Regions from separate parts of the Homo sapiens genome. Here regions 2 and 3 are each linked to region 1. Evidence: promoter capture Hi-C in 16 types of primary human blood cells and fetal thymus (Javierre and others, 2016). All regions are on one chromosome and are shown on one strand. The core of a region is centred on a gene start or on the middle of the fragment in contact, and the rest is flanking DNA. Distances in the headings are between cores, read along the strand shown. Region 1 holds the start of IGSF9 (immunoglobulin superfamily member 9). Region 2 overlaps CADM3 (cell adhesion molecule 3). Region 3 has its middle 20 kb from the start of ACKR1.

What was found. Contacts are between HindIII fragments. The CHiCAGO score rates a contact against its expected background, and 5 or more counts as called.
Region 2: a contact is called between a fragment that was not itself captured here and the fragment with the promoter of IGSF9 in region 1, in 3 of 17 cell types (M2 macrophages, megakaryocytes and endothelial precursors). The highest score is 7.6, in M2 macrophages.
Region 3: a fragment that was not itself captured here is called in contact with the fragment with the promoter of IGSF9 in region 1 in 4 of 17 cell types (megakaryocytes, neutrophils, erythroblasts and 1 more); the score reaches 7.0 in megakaryocytes.

The regions. Positions count from the first base shown.
Region 1 is chr1:159,943,988-159,947,433 of GRCh38, forward strand. IGSF9 (immunoglobulin superfamily member 9) reads right to left here and starts at 1,626. Exons shown (of 21, transcript NM_001135050.2): 1 at 1,586-1,626. LOC124904438 (a long non-coding RNA gene) reads left to right here. Exons shown (of 3, transcript XR_007066684.1): 2 at 2,165-2,465. RefSeq lists a silencer at 1,612-1,906 and an enhancer at 1,749-2,249. The HindIII fragment of the contact is 10,806 bases long and covers 1-2,530 here.
Region 2 is chr1:159,179,012-159,182,457 of GRCh38, forward strand. All of the region lies in intron 1 of CADM3 (cell adhesion molecule 3), which reads left to right. Among named protein-coding and RNA genes, the nearest start is that of CADM3, 9.1 kb to the left of the region's middle. The HindIII fragment of the contact is 4,108 bases long and covers 1-3,446 here.
Region 3 is chr1:159,223,466-159,226,911 of GRCh38, forward strand. No RefSeq gene overlaps it. Among named protein-coding and RNA genes, the nearest start is that of ACKR1, 20 kb to the left of the region's middle. The HindIII fragment of the contact is 1,523 bases long and covers 1,051-2,573 here.

The DNA of each region.
Region 1 (3,446 bases), core at 376-2,875:
GGAAGTATGGTAGATCAAGACTCTCATGGCCTAGGCTGCTCTCGCTTCTTTCCTTACTCTTGATGCTCACAAGGTATAGCAGCAAGATGGAACCAGTGCTGTCGCCTTCACCCCTCTGTGACAAATAAGGGCCCTGAGGATATCTGCTCAGGGGCAGAGAGCCAGTCAAGGGCAAATCCAGGGCGCTTAAGCCTCAGAAAGTGGTCCCCAGGACACCCCGATACAATCCCTTGTCCCATTTCCCCAGCCTCTATGAAAAACTCTGGAAGCTGAGGACCCGAGGCCTTTCTCCATTCAGTCTCCCTACACTGCTTTGGCAGTGAGTGAGTCAGGCACTTGGGAGAGGAGGAGCTGCCTCCCCCACCTGCCAGTATGGGGGATCCAGGCAGCATCCTCCAGGTCTGGACAGGTCCCGGGGCTGGCAGCTGGCGCCACTTCCTCACGATACTGCCAAGCAGCCCTCCCCCTGCCAGGCACCACCACCCAAGGACCTCACCCAAATCCCTCCCACTCACTCCCCTCCAATATCTTCGGGGTGCCAGGGTTTGTCAAGCTCTTTCTTCCCCAACCCCAGAGGCATGGTCCAAAAAAAAGCCTGTGAGTCCCTGAAGTGTACAAAATTAACCCTGGGGCATGGAGGGTAGGAGCTTCTGACAGCCCCACAGATCCTAGGGCAGTCTCAGAGAGCCAGAGGGTCCATGCCAGGGCCTGGCACTGCCAAGTGGACTCTGCTCTGAGTCCTCCAACCCACTCTTGGCCGCAAAGTTCAGGACAGACTATAAAACATCCTCCACAGAGTCTGATCCTTGCCTCTACTTAATGATCCTGTATGTCTAACTTCTGGCAATTCACTAGCAACCAAGCCCCCTGTTTCCCACTGCCTCCAGGCAGCTCTCCCACACTTCCCTGAAAAACCTTTTTCCAAGTATATAGGAACCCCCTAGTTCTCTCCTGGTTGTTTTCCGAGACTCTGAGTAACTAGGCATCCCTAGAATTCCTCCCAGTCTCTTAATATCTTTCCAACTCCCCCGGCCTCCACTATTTCCTCACCCTTCTAGTCTCCCCACACACCACTCCCTCGTCCTCCCATTACTCCCTTCCCAGTTATCGCTACTACGCACAATCCCCCCACAATTCCAGCTTCTCGCACCTGATCTCCAATTGCAGCAGGTCTCCTGCACTATAAAGAACTCCCTTCTGGTCTCCCCACCCCCCAGCCACTTCTCCCCATCCTCTCCTCCCGATAATTCCCCTCCCTGGGATTCTCCTGCATCAGCCCACAATACAATTCTGATACCCCACCCCCAACAATTCCTTTCTCCCTCGCATTCTCTGGTCCCCTGGAACTCCTCCTTTCTCTTAGAACCCACCAAGAACTCCCCCACATTGCCTCCAGAACTCCTGCAGTTCTCCGGGAACTCCCACCCACCCGCCAAGAATTCCACTTCACTCCCCAGAACTCCCCTAGTTCTACTCCTGCAACGAATTCCACTTCTCTCTAGAACTCCCCGCTTTCTCCTGTCCCCCATAACTCCGCACTACCAGCACCACCACTTCTATACCTCCAGTACGCCCCCTCCCTCACCTGCTCCGCACCGCTCGGCTCCACTCTCGCCGCTACACAATAGGGGGCGGACCCGCCTCCCCGCCTCGGATGCCCCGAGCGCCTCCCGTCGCCCTGGAGACCGCCAATCCCCCTCCCGCGGCGGCCAATTGGAGCCGCCAGAGGCACGGCGAGGCGGGCGGGACCCCTGAGCGGCCTGGGAGTTGTAGTTTCAGGAGGGAAGAGCTCGGCTGCACGTGGGCTCAGGTCGCCCCCTCGTGGACCTCTGCACAGCCAAGCGTGGAAAGGCCGGTGGGCCGCTTCCCGCCGCCAGCAAGAGGGGCAGCAGGGTCCGGCTCGCGCTCCAGGGCTGCGGGAGCTGGCCCCTTGCCAGGCTACTGGTACGCCGTCCTTCTTTCGGAACCTACGGGCGACCCTCTCCGCTCCCCGAACGGGCGCGCCACAGAGGCGGCAGCGAGGGTTGAAATCTGAGCCTGGGGGTAGGAGAACCAGGCGGGGAGCATGACTCCCCGCCCTCCTCCCAGGGGATCCACCCAGGTCCCGGGCTCATCCGATCTCCTCCCCCATCCCCATTTCTACCTCCACCCATTGCTTCTCTAGCAGGACTGGAAATACCTGTCTGCATTGGCGAGCTCCCAAATCTTGCCCAGGCGCCTCCCACCGTGTGCAGCTGAGGAAGGCTGTGCTCTGAGCGTGGGGTTGCCAAGTCAGCTCCCAAGGCAGCTCTGGCACCAACGACCCAGAGAAACAGGCCCAGAGGGGAGAAACGACAGATATCCTGACACGGGAGATTGAAAGGGAGGAATGAAATACAAGATCACTTACTGGACCCATGCAGGGTGCCAGACCCTGGACTAGATGCTTTATAACTCTTGTGTAACCTTCACAGAAACCCTGCGAAGTAAGTAGAGCTCCCTTTGACTAATGAGAAAACTGAGGCTCAGGGAGATGAAGTAACTTGGCCCAAGCTTTCCCAACTAGGTTATGGCAGAGCTGGATTGAGACCCAACCCAAACTTCATCAAACCTACTCCCTTGGAGGCTTCGCCCTCAGACACAAAGATATCTTGCATATCTTGCCCCTCAGAGATTCCACCTCCTCAGCCTGGTGATGCTGTAGGGATGCTGGGTCGGCTTAAGCAACATTGCCTGTCCAGGTCCTTCCCATTCAGTTGGCTCCCTTGGAAGCCTTCCATGAAAGCAACGTGCTGATCTCATCCCAATCCGAAGTACTAAGACTCAAACTGAGTGCACCAGGCATCAGACTCACAGAATCACTGCTGCAGCATCATGAGAGAACCTCCAGGATGGGCCTAAGCACTACTTGGCCCCAGAATCCCTGGCACATCATTTCTCCATGTAGTCATCCAAGCCCCTATCTCATTACATCCTGGGCCAGGAAGCTCAGCACTACTGTTGTACCCATTCCATCCTTAGTAAGCTCTGCCTGCTGGACAGTTCTTCCAGGTGTAAAGGTTTTAGTGCTTTTGGGTGACTGAGATGGAAGGGAAGAGGCAGGAGCAGTGGGCCAGTCTCTCCCACCATCCCTCCTGCAAATAGTCCCAAAGTAGCAGCTTTTCAACAATGCATTTCAACATAATACCCTGATCTATTGATAAGACTATAATGGAAACATGTTAATGAATGCAGCATGGAAGCAAGGCTAGAAGAAATGGTAAAAGAGTGAAGCGGGTTTTTTGTTTGTTTGTTTTTTTGTTTTGACAGAGTCTCACTCTATCGCCCAGGCTGGAGTGCAGTGGTGCAATCTCGGCTCACTGCAACCTCCACCTCCCGGGTTCAAGCGATTCTCCTGCTTCAGCCTCCCAAGCAGCTGTGATTACAGGCGGCCACCACCATGCCTGGCTAATTTTTGTATTTTTAGT
Region 2 (3,446 bases), core at 622-3,121, 760 kb before region 1:
GACAGGTAATGAGAGTGATTTATCTCTATGAGCGAGGCTTCAGCAAGACAGAATTAGGGTTATAGTAACAGCTGGAGTGTCTCCCATCTACTCATCTTCCTAAGCCCCCTGTTCTCATGAAGAGCAGGCAGGTTTCAGAAAGGACTCAAATACAGAAATCTCAACATATTTTTCAGCACATATATCATTCTTTAATGTGAACTCTTACCCCTGGGATTCTTCAAGATTCTCTTCTCTCTCTCTCTTTCTCTTGGAAGTCTCCAAGAGAACAATAAGAAAGCTAAATAACTTAAAGAACAAACTAAAATGTTGTCTTCTCTAAGGATTTATTTTCCCTTTCCCCAGCTAGACTTACACTAACTGTGTATTGATTGCTAATTATAAGCACCTTTGGCTCATTTACTTCTAGTTCAGGGTCAAGAAGGTCAGGTGCATCACCTTGCTCTAGAGAGAAAAAAGAAAAAGTAATGAAGGCTGATGTCTCAGGCACTCATCTGTAGGCTAGCCATTATTCATTTCTCCCCTTTCTTCATATACTCCCAAATACTGGCAAGGTAGGATGAAGAACTAGTACTTCTGACAACAGATTTTATTGGAAATATGCAGATTCTTGTTTCATATTTTACTTTTACCCTTCTATGACCTGGCGCTTTGCTTCCAATTCTGATTTCAGTAAGTATATCAATGAGAGGTAACTTGGAACTTAGCATAGCAGTCAGTCAGTCTGAAGAGCCTGGAGCTGAGTTCTTGAGTTATTATAAAATGAGAAGCCAGTTTTACCATCTGCTCCTAATCATTTTTTTTTTGCCCAGCAAATGCAAAAATTACAGTGAAACAATTGCACTCACTAGTTCTTGCTGTAGTTCTTAAGGATGAGATCTTTCCAAATACATATTATATGTTTCTTCCCATAACTTCTATCTGCTAATCTCACACAAATATAAAAATTACCACCACTAAGCCCCTGAGCCTCCCATATTTTGATTTATCCTCAATTGCCACTTAATGCCAACTCTTTTCTGGTTTCCAAGCCCTGGAGTCCAATGTCAGTGACAGATGGACTGAGCCTCAACCCTGGAGAGGAGAGGATTCTGGCCCTCTCCTGGGGAGTTTGAGCAGAAGAGAGAGCCTGAATTCTGCTTTGGGGAGAATCTCTGAGTTTAAGCCATATGGTATTCTGGAAGTAAGGGGTTCTGATTAATATGGGCATGTGAAAAGGGCTCTGTATCTGGGTCATAATAAAATCTGTGTGTTCATGTCAGAAAAAAACCCCAGAAATATGATTAGTGAGAATCAGAGTGTCTTGTGTGTGTGTATTGAGGGGCACATGTCAAAATATGCATCTATCTTAGGGAACAAAAATGTGTGTTTGCCCCCATCAAATAAGAGACACTCAATGGAGATTTAAGAAGAGAGATAAGAGTTCTTTATGTCAGAACAATATTATTTTCCATTTCGGGGACTGTGAGATCTGTGGACTTGGGAGAATGTATCTATTTCACAGAAGAGTGAAATTCTCACAAAGTGAGGCTAATGCGAACAATGTACCGCAATTTTAAAAATACAGATTTTTTTTTTTTTAAGTGAGAAGAGTGCAGGGAGACTAAATAGCAGTTAGGATTGGGGGAATCAGTGAAACTAGAGTAGTGTGGGTGTGTAGAGCAGAACACATTTTTCTTCATGTAATGCTCCTAACCATTGCCCTGAACCTGTCATCCACACCCAGACTCTGATCATCCAGTGAAGGGAAACAGTAAAAACAAGTCAGGAAAATCAGAACCAGCAGAGATGAGTGCTTTCTTGCTTGACTTCTAACAAATTAAACTTTTCCACAGCATTGTTATCCCACCACACCAAGCCATCAGCCTGTAATATCTAAAGTGCAACATAAGGAGCATAGGAGAATAAGACAGAGCCCACTGAGAAAGGGAATTCATCCATGCCCTCAGACAGGTATTGGGGCACTGGGATGGGTAGTGCAGAGTATGAGCAAGTTGTTGGAACCTGGGCTGAGATTTTTCATCTCCAGAGAATATATTCTTTACTTCTGATTTTCTGGGATTTCTGGCCCATTCCCAGTCTCTATTTTCCCATACCCTTCCAATGAGCTAAATTGAATTCTGCGTTTGACTCTGTTATGTTTCCTTTCTCAAGTACTTTCCTAAGATGAGGAACTTTTTCCCCCCAGTTTTATTACATATGTGTGAAAACAGCAAGATAAATTGGGGGAAAGGGTATAAAATCCCTCTACTTAGTTTAAGAGGACAACTAAGAGTTCAAAGTCTGGCCTCCTGACTGTATTGCATTAGAATGCAGATTTCAAGTCATACCTGTCCGTATGTCTAAAGTGTTTGATCATAGTGAGAAGGGAATGAGGAGATGGGATAAACAGACACTCCTAAAATGGCTCAGGGCTGTTATCATCCTGTCTTCAGGGGCCTACTCCAAAACAACTGAAGACAGTCAGTACCTGCACAGAATCTGTGCTCTAGAGGTCCTCACTGAGCCCTCCCCCGTGCTCAGTTTCACCTCACCCTCTCATCCTCTTCAGGCAGAACACTAGATGCTTGTCTAGAGCACACAGCCCAGTCCCAGAAGGAAGCAGCTAAGGCAAGGAAGAGACTCTTTCGGGATCAAATCCCCTCCCTTTTTGTCTCTCAACTGCAGTTCTCCTTGCTACAACTCAGTATTGGCTACAGAGGGGCTTGTTTTGGTTGGGGGCCAGCCCAGGGCTCCCTCCTGGTGCTAATGCACCAAGAACACTGACTCAATAGCAAATCAAAGCAACAGCTGTCCCCACCTCCTTCCCTGCCACCCACTTCCCAGTCTCTGCTCCTCGGAATCTTAACTAAGTCTCTGAAGGCCCCCCTCAGCCTACCACAAGCCCACTTCTGCCTCCAGATTTTTTCTCTCTCCAGCTCAAGAATAGGACATGTTCCTCTGCTTTTTTTCTTCTCTTCTCTTCTGGCCCCTGTCTCCTGCTTCACAATCAGGTTAGCATTCCCTCAGCTCTTCACCTTGCAGATGCCAGCAAGCACACAGACAGACACACACACACACACACACACACACACACGCACACACACATGCCACCTGTCCTCACAGTCACCCTTTTTAGCTCCAAAGGGCATGGCAGTGACTTCTGCCCAATGGCCTCTTCTTCTGTGTGAACTGGAACCTGCCGGTAAAGCCCTGAAGTGTAAGAAGATGCCATCCGCCCCATCTTCAGGGACTCCCTCTTCATCATAACCAAACTTCTCCAACCTACTGGGCATTTAGTAGACTTACTTCTCTTAAGGTCCACGGTCCTGGAGTTCCTCAGTATCATGCACAGGAGATGAGGCATAGGAAGAGTGGGTGTCAGCGGAAATATTTGACACTTAGTGTCAAATTAACCACTGAATTAGCCAGTCCACAAGGACTGCTATAAACTATCAATGAGTACA
Region 3 (3,446 bases), core at 562-3,061, 720 kb before region 1:
ATTTGATTCTGTGTGCTATCGGTCAGAGTACCCGCCACCCTTCCGCAAAGTGTGCCCCTCCTCCAGAAACCTGAGGGAAAATGTAAAATACCCTTACTTCTTGTAAACTTCTTACCAGAGACATCTAACTGACTTAAATCATCACACCTCTGGCTGGCCATTCAGCCAGTCTGAGCTGTTTGTTGTTGGTGTGCTAGACATATTTCTTTTTCTTTTCTTTCCTTCTTATTTATTTATTTATTTGTTTGTTTGTTTATTTATTTTTGAGATGGAGTCTCACTCTGTCGCCCAGGCTGGAGTGCAATGGTGTGATTTTGGCTCACTGCAACCTCCACCTCCCAGGTTCAAGAGATTCTCCTGCCTCAGCCTCCCGAGTAGCTGGGACTACAGGCATGCACCACCATGCCAGGCTAATCTTTTGTATTTTTAGTAGAGATGGGGTTTCACCGTGTTGGCCAGGCTGGTCTCAAACTCTTGACCTCAGGTGATCCATCCGCCTTGGCCTCCCAAAGTGCTGGGATTACAGGCGTGAGCCACTGCACCCGGCCTGCTAGACACATTTCTATGTATCGTTCATCTGCATAGTAATTCTTGGTGCCTCATCTAGGAGGCACCTTCCTAGGAGGCATCAGAAAAGAACCCTCAGAAAAGGATGGCTCTTTGCCATACTAATAACAAGGTTAAATTGTATATAACTTTCCTGAGGGAAGAGGTCAGCTCTCTGATTTACTCCAGCTATCAAAGGAAGTCAGTGAAATACAGTAAGACAATTACTTATTGAGCATCTACTTTGTGTCAGACACTGTTGTTAGGATAAAAAATGTAAAGATGAATAAGATCTCCCCTGCTATCAAAAAGCTCACAGATATGGTGGAAACAGGTGTATAAACAGATCATTGCAACACAATGTGGTCAGCACAGTGATGGAGATATTGGTCTGCTTATTACAAGGCACAGAGTGAAGGCACTCAGCCCAGACAGAGAGGAGTGGGGGAAGACCTGCTTGTCAGAGTGGCTTCATGTCAGCAGTGATGCTGAACTAAGTCTTAAAGCTTCATAAGAACACCCTGTTGTAAATGAATGTCATCCAATTTCATTTTTATTGGAGAAATATCATTTTGGTGCAAAATGAACCCTTATTTCCGCTTACTGGGAACATGATCAGCCTTTGGGTTTAAAGGCTGGACGGGAAATTGCTAGGTAGCTGTGGTTGGCCTATGCAATCACATGTAAATAGGCTTTGGGGCAAATATCTGGTTCCCAGTAGACCAACACCCCTATTATGTAAGGAGGCTGGACTCAGTTCTTGTTGGGAGAAGTCTGAGAGGATCTCAGGGGAACACAGGAGAAAAAAAAGCTGTTAGGGTCATGAGTCCCTGAAGAAGCCATTTAAAGAGCTAGGCAGGACACTGGACCATAAGAGGTAAAGGTTGGTGGACAAGAGAGCAGGCTGCTTGGAAGCAGTGCCTACACTAGAGGATCATTCCAGCAGTGGCTTCTAGGGACAATCTTCCTAGAAGGGCAGCTGGCCAGTCAACATCTCAAGCTCTGACCATTCCTGTTCTCTAGGGACACAGTTATCACATGCAGTCCGATCTCTGCCTCAGATACGTATCAATTCTTCAGTCAATGCAATGGGTCCAGTTATATCATGGATTCTCTGATTTGACTCACTCAAGTAATGCTCCTGGACATACTAAGATTTTAGAAAATCCCTGGTCACCTAATAGGGTAGTGGAAAAATTGTTTTGAGTTCTTTTCTATCACCATCTAGTGAATAAAGAGCTAAAAAAACCTCTTCTCAGGAGCCAGACTGAAGCAACATAGAGACAGAGGGAAGTGGATACCTCTGTTACCAAAGGACAAATAGGACCTAGGCAGGTGAGCTGAGAACGGAGGTGGGCACTTCAGAGAGAGGTGAGAATGTGAGCTAGAAGAGGGAGGAAAAATATCATGGTCGAGCAGAGAATGGCAAGCAGGTCTGTATTGTCATTGCTTGAAGTGGGAGGCGGGGAGTGACAGGGGAGGCGCACAGGCAGTAGACAATGGAGAACTTTGTAGAACAAGTTAGGGAGCCTGCATTTCATCTGGTAGGCAAAGTGGACTCATATGAAAGTTCTAAGCAGAGAAATGTAATGATATAGTTTGTTTCTTAAATGTCATACATAGATCACTTTGGAGGTTCTAGAGACAAAGGACTTGGGAGAGCAAACTGGGAAGCTGCTGTAATTGGCCAGATAAGAGAGGAAGTGACCTTAACTAAAAAAGTGATGGTAGAGTTGGGGAGAAGAGGATGGATCAGAGGAATATAGAAGTAGTAAAATCAGCAGAATGTAAATCAAAGAGGGCAGAGGAAGGAGAGGATCGTCAAGGATGGTGCTTTGGGTAAAAAGGCATTTGCACAGTCTGCCACATAATGGACATTTGATAAATATTTACACAAGTACAGTTCCCTGTCGTGATGATTGCTTTTCTATTACTACTACTGAGTGTTGCTAAAATGAGAATTCTAGTTTCAGCTTACTCACTGTGTGATCTTAGGAAAGTCATACTGTCTCTTCTATAAAATGAGAAGCTTTGAGTAGATAAATTCTAAAGTCCTTCCCATCTTTGACTTTTCTGGCAAAATATTGTGGACCAATATTGGAAACATATTATAAAGCTGATGACAATGTTTTCATAGATAGAGTTACTCCAAACTTCAAACAACCAACTTAAATGAATTTTTGGAAGAACATTCTAATTTGAGGACTGCCAGTACTCTCTTACCTCATTTCCATTTTCCCCCCGCAGGTATAATTTCTTCATGAGTATAAGTCTTGCCTGTCCAAAAAAGCTTAAGAGACTATGACATATGTTTTGGGTCTCCTATAATGGTATATATGGTATAGTGCCAGGTACATTTCATCATTCAAAATTTACTTGAGTTGAATTCAATTATGTCTCTCTGCAGGGGCTTGATCCTAAATACTTCAAGTATACACTCATTCATTCTTCTCTTCAATCAGCAGATACTTATAGAGTGCATAACCAGGTGCAAACTGAATAAGACATCAACAGTTCACTCAAGGAGTGAAGAGTGTAGCAGAGTAAATAAGATGTTTATGTAGGAAGCCATAGTGTGTGCTGGGAAGTGAATGATGGTATGGACTCTTATATGGACTCTTATGGACACTATAAAGTGATGTGGCTGCTAAAAGAAGACAGTAATTACTTCCAGTGAAAAGGAAGTGAAGGAAGATGTCTCTGGGAGATATTATAATGGCTTGTGCCCCACACTGAAAGTGATGTAGCTATTAGCACTGTCTGCTGGTCATTAAGATGAAGACTTAAAGATGAATGGCTGAGCACTGGGGTGCACTCTCACTAGGAGGCAGAGTTCGGCTGGGATGAATCTCATCAGACCAGTCAATGGTGAAATTCCAGCCATTGGCTTCACAGGGAAA